Linked DNA regions of Homo sapiens: region 1 is linked to region 2. The links are contacts of gene promoters, found by promoter capture Hi-C in human tissues and cell types (Jung and others, 2019). All regions are on one chromosome and are shown on one strand. Each heading gives the region's core, a stretch centred on a gene start or on the middle of the fragment in contact. The rest is flanking DNA. Distances are from core to core; before and after follow the strand shown.

Region 1 (3,011 bases), core at 82-2,581, 290 kb after region 2:
AAATTTAATTAGCATAAGCTAACTAAATCTGAATGCAAAACAGGTGATAAGATCATGTATGAAAAGAAAAAGGTAAAATTTTTGTCTTTGTGTAAAACAAGTTTTTATCACAATTTTTTAAGTCCAATATAAACAGATTGGAGAGGAATCATATTTTTAATTACACTGTCATTTTGAAAGTATTAACTATGCCATTGCAATATAAAATATTCATAATTTTTTGTCTAATTATCTAATGCTGCATTATTTAATGGTTAAAGATTTGCTTTGGATTATTAAAAGTAATGTATAGCCAATGGAAAATGGAATTAAAAAGCACATATAGGATGGCATATATAATCTCTCCATCCACCCAGAGGTTATCTCAACTAACATTCTAGTGATTTTTCTCACCTTGCTCTATCCCATGGATGTGCACGCACCTACATCCTGGTACATACAGAGGCAGAAATGCACACGAAATTCTCCAATCAGTATGAAGATACCCAAAATTTTAAATTTGTGGCAATAGCACCAAAAAGCTTACCAAAATATTTTTTGACCTGAATTCTCTATCACAACTAACCAATGTATCTATTTGTCTCTATATAAAGGCAAAAATAACAATAATTTAATTCCCTCTCTCTTTTAAGATTTTCTGACCTTTATGCAGTCCTGAATTTGAATCTTGACAATGGAAAAATTTAAATTTTCCCATTATATCTCTTATCCTTCAATTATAAAGTTTGATCATTGCATGAAATTTATAACAATCTTATAAATTTTATTTTTATTTTTATTTTATTTTTTTTTTTTTGAGACGGAGTCTCGCTCTGTGGCCCAGGCAGGAGTGCAGTGGTGCAATCTCGGCTCACTGCAAGCTCTGCCTCCCGGGTTCACGCCATTCTCCTGCCTCAGCCTCCCGAGTAGCTGGGACTACAGGCGCCCGCCATCACGCCCTGCTAATTTTTTTTTTATTTTTTAGTAGAGACGGGGTTTCACCATGTTAGCCAGGGTGGTCTACGATCTCCTGACCTCGTGATCCGCCCGCCTCGGCCTCCCAAAGTGCTGGGATTACAAGCGTGAGCCACCGCGCCCGGCCTACAAATTTTAAATTTACATTTATGTCTTACTGTTTATTATTTTAGTGAATATCCTTCTATGCTATACACATTTTCCTCTTCCTAAATTATTAAACTGATTCACCTTCCAGGAACTTGGAGAATAACTACAGTAGATTTATCAAGGTGCAACAAGGAGATGAAATATGGATGTCATATTACTGCCAGAGCAATTGTATATTTGATAGTGTATCTCTGCTTCTTTTTCCTACAATCAGTAATTTGCCAAAGTCATTACTCATTTTTTTTAAAAAATCAATTACCTATCTTTATCCTACTTTATTCTCTTATGTAGTATTCTGGTGAAATATGACTATCAGTGGATTTTTTTTTCTTTAGCAGTAACATATATTTTCTTTGAATCTGTAAAGTGTTGTAATCCGTTGTTTTCTTTTATCTGTTGTTCTTAATTTATATACTTTCCTAATATTATAAGTAAGAATTATTTTTATAAATTTTATTTGAATTACATTAAATGAATTATATCTGCATGTCTAGGTCTTACATTTTTAGCATTGTTTGTGCCCAATATGTTCAATTCTTAAGTTCATATATTCCTTTAATAGCTCTCACTTTCTCAAACACTTACAGGTGAAGAAAGGGCTTATGATATACATCATCTATGTGATATAATCAATCTTCTTGAATAACATTTCTCTTCCCTACTCTTCTTTCACTTCTATTAAATTGTTATACCACCACAGACATTGCTTTTCTCACCTAGATTCTAAAAATCTACTCAATTGCCATCCCTTCTCCTGCTAAGGCATAGGTAACTGGTTGATTTTTTTTTTTTTTTCCCGGTGGGGAGGAATCTCTCTCCATCTACATTTTTTTCCAGAAACGGGGTATAAAAAGTGAAGTGGATACAGAGAAAGAGAGAGGGAGACAGATAGAGAAGTAAATAAAAGAGTACAAGAGAAGAGAAACGAGAGAAAGGTAAAAGGAGGAAGAAGAATCCATTTTCTTTCTTACTTTAAAAGACAATAAAGTAACCTGGTTAGGTGAAGAAAAATAAGTGGCCTTTCAAGTCGGAGGTCACAGGATATTTTTCTAAGGTTTATTTTTTTCTCCACAGACTTATTACTAGTATAATTTATCTTAATCAAGATTATTCCTAGAAATTAAGAAATTATGTTTGCAGGTAGGCTTCAAAAAGTGAAATTTGGCTATCTAAGGGAATAAACAGAAATGGCACCCATTTGGCTAAAGCTTTACCTTAGGTAAGATTTATTCAAGAAATTAAAAAAAAAAAAGAGGCTTTAAGGAATAATGTGAGCATCAGCTAACTTTTTAGATGGTTCACAGGAACCAAAGAAGAATAAGGATCACTCAGTAAAAATTGCATGCCACAATAAGTGGTCAGGCAACCTGGGTAGGTAGTCATGGAGGGGCAAGCAATTGGAGAACACCGGTAAACTGAAAGCAATGGGCCTAAATTATGGGTTGCAGTAAGGGGGTCCAAGAACTTTTTAGAGAGCAGAGAAAAATCTACACTTACCTCAATATTTTATCTAGGTTGACCCTAATTAAATATTTTAATCTGTTGGGTGGGAACTCGAGTTCTCAGACCTAGACTTTGTAATTTCCTTTGCCATAGGTTAAATCAATGGTTTTCAGTCACTCTGGCAATTGGGGAGGGGTAAGCAGAAATAATTTGTACATGAATGAGATGAAAGTTGTAGAAAAGTGCGATGTTTTTTAATGCTTAATTTAAAGGATGTATGGTTCCCAGATCAATGGGTTAACTGTAAACAAACAGAATGCAAACAAACTTACTGCAAAGTTTGTCTTCACAGTTACTTGGGCAGGCTTCACATGGGACGCCTGTCTTATAAGGTTCATTCTTTGTTTCAGGATCATTTCCCCTTGAATAAAAAAAAGTGATTTCATAAAACCCATCTTTGAAAA
Region 2 (2,809 bases), core at 117-2,616:
GGCCTCAGACTTCCAAAATGATGGGGCTACAGGTGTGAACCACCACACCCAGCCATCAGTGGGTTTTTTAATAAAACAAACAGCTAAGGATGAACTGGAAACCACAAACTGAGCTCTTTTTCTATGACCTAGCCTCCCCGGTTAACCTTAGGCAAAGAGTAGTGGTCAGCGGGCCTGCCTATGGGTAAATTCTAAAAGCCTCGCCAGAGACACTTAACTTTTTTTAACCCCTGTGGTTAAAGAGGACGGGTGGGTGCAGAGGGAATTTTATAAACGACACAAACACAAACAATTTTAAGTCCTGAAAAAATTCATTTGGATGTTTGTTTTGCTTCTGTTTTATAGCTTGTTTTAAATCAAAGACTACACCTTCCTGAGACAAGCGTTGATTACACACAAAATGAAGACTGGCCAGGGCCGTGGCTCAAGCCTGTAATCCCAGAATTTTGGGAGGCCCAGGTGGGTGTGTGGGTAGGGTGGGGGATCCTGGGTATCTCGTAAGCCCAGGAGTTCCAGACCAGCCTGGGCAATATAGGAGAGCCCCACCCCTACCATCTCTTAGAAAAATATAAATAAATAAATAAATAAATAAATAAATAAATAAATAAATAAAAGCCGGGCATGGGGGTGCGCGCCTGTAGTCCCGGCTACTTGACGGGCTGAGGTGGGAGCCTGGAAAGTCGAGGCTGCGCCACTGCACTCTATCCTGAGCTACAGAGCGAGACCATATCTAATGTGGGGGGGTGGGGTAAGAGGAAGGGGGAGCGGGGAGAGGGAGAGAGAAAGAGAGCGGGAAAAAAGAAGGAGGAGGAAGAGGAGGAGGAGGACACAGGTGTGACCATTGTCCTCCAGAGCTACAGATTCTGGCATTCTAAAGGAAGAAGGACAAAGAAACCAAAACCAGTTTCTCCAAGGCTTCAGCTTTTCAGTCTGACCATTTGATCTACATTCCATTATTTTGGCAGCATGGTGGGAGTGGATTCGGAATGGACAAAAACCCTTTTCAGAATTAGATCAGCTAATTAAAATGCACACAAACTTCTTTGTTCCTTCACCTCAAGGAGCGTCCTTGGAAAGCAAACATACTTCGGGGCATTTCAGTGGGGGCGCAGTGCGAGGGTGTCCTTTGCGCCTCAGCTCCGGAGAAAAACGAAAGGTGGGTGGGAAACTAGGATAGAGGTGAAAAGTAAGAGGGGACTGAATCAGCGAATGACAAAGGGAGCAGGGCTCCGGACAGGGGTAGGAGGAAGAAGAGGAGTGACTGGGGCTTGTGTCAAGCTTCTTCTGAATGGCTAGACAGCCGCCAGGTGGGAGAGGCGGAGGGTGAAGAGGCGGGTTCCGCACGCGGTTAGCCTGGGGCTGATCTAGTCTTCAGCTTTCACCGGCTGGGAGTCCGGAGCTGCAGCAGAGGCCACACCCAGGGCTTGGTGGTCCCGCGCTTTCCGGAGCTCAGCAGGCGCTTGCTGCTTGAACCGGTCAAAGAAGGAACGAATGAATGACCCTTTTGCCAGGATGGAGACCCGGGGGCCTCAGGGAGCTGCGAATCCCATGGACTCCTCCCGCAGCCTGGGGGACCTCGGGCCTTTTCCGCGGGAGGTAGGGCGCGGGGCTCCGCTAGCTCCGGGCGCCCGGAATCCCGCGACGGCAGGGGCGAGCCGAAGCCAGGGCGGCGGCCACGAGGACAGAACGGCAGATCGGGCCCTCGGACCTCGGGCCGGGGAGGAATTGGACCGTGAGTCCTGGGTCAGAGAGAAAGTGCTCTTTCTCCTGCACCCAGAGAGGTGGTTAGGGACTCGAGGGGACCCTGCACGGGAAGAGGTGGCCGGTGCAGAGGACCTTCCTCATGCGGGTGGAGAGGACCACGGCGAGGAGCCCAACTACCCTTCTGTCTTTCAACGACAAAAGCGAATTTCTGGCAGGCGTGTAGCCCCGCCGCGGGACGCAGCAGACCCACCCAAATACGTGCTTGTGCGGGTGGAGGATTATCAGGTAACACAAGAAGTGTTGCAGACCTCCTGGGCCAAGGGTCGCATGACCACGAGGACTGAGGAGCACTTCGTGACCGCGCTCACTTTTCGCAGCAGTAGAGAGGGACAGCCTGGGGAACGCTGGGGCCCTGCTGAATCCCGGGCTCTCCAGGCACGAACAGGGGCATCCCGCGTCCACGCCGCGGGGAGGAGGGTTTCACCGTCTCCAGGGACTTGGCTCGAGGAAATTAAACTCTAATGAGTAGCTCGAGAAATGTTCCGGGATGGTGGATGAGCGATCATCCTTAAAAGAAAATGCTATTCTGGGAGCTCCAACCTGCAATTAACCTACAGAAGGAACCTTTTGAGAGGCTGGTGCAGCGCTTCGGGGAGGCAGATTAAGAACTGTAAGCAGCATAATACCTCCTTTGTGGCTTGAATTCCTTCGCTGTCTGGGGACCTAAGTCATTCAGAAGAGGTGGAGAAAAGATATTTTCAGATTGGCAGAATGTGGGAGTTTTGAAATGAGAAAACCTGTTGTTAATTTGCATTTTGGAATAACTCTCAATTGATCTCTTTTCTGTTCCCCGCCCCCCTCTTGTTTCTCTTTAGGACCTAGAAACAGAAGTGAAGTTTGAAGTCTGCTCTCTGCAAAGAGGGTGGGAGTGGGTGGAGAAGAGGCTTGTTTTAAAAGCCAAAAACAGAAAGTAAAAAGAAATGGGAAAGTAAAACCAAAGCAGCAAGTGACTCTCTTCTGATGTGCACTTTTCATTTTTCTCCCCCACATTTCAGTGTTAGAAAGAAAACGAGAGGAGCTAGGGAAAGAAGGAGTTGGGGACAGA

What was found. Contacts are between HindIII fragments. The study calls those that stand out against the background at their distance.
Region 1: a fragment that was not itself captured here is called in contact with the fragment with the promoter of C6orf141 in region 2 in 1 of the 25 tissues and cell types used here (H1 embryonic stem cells).

Annotation. Positions count from the first base shown.
Region 1 is chr6:49,835,558-49,838,568 of GRCh38, forward strand. It overlaps CRISP1 (cysteine rich secretory protein 1), which reads right to left. Exons shown (of 8, transcript NM_001131.3): 7 at 2,880-2,968. Among named protein-coding and RNA genes, the nearest start is that of CRISP1, 29 kb to the right of the region's middle. The HindIII fragment of the contact is 5,773 bases long and covers 1-3,011 here.
Region 2 is chr6:49,549,302-49,552,110 of GRCh38, forward strand. It overlaps C6orf141 (chromosome 6 open reading frame 141), which reads left to right and starts at 1,367. Exons shown (of 1, transcript NM_001145652.2): 1 at 1,367-2,794. The coding sequence starts at 1,492. The coding sequence ends at 2,226. RefSeq lists a silencer at 1,352-1,411 and enhancers at 2,082-2,151, 2,168-2,687. The HindIII fragment of the contact is 21,386 bases long and covers 1-2,809 here.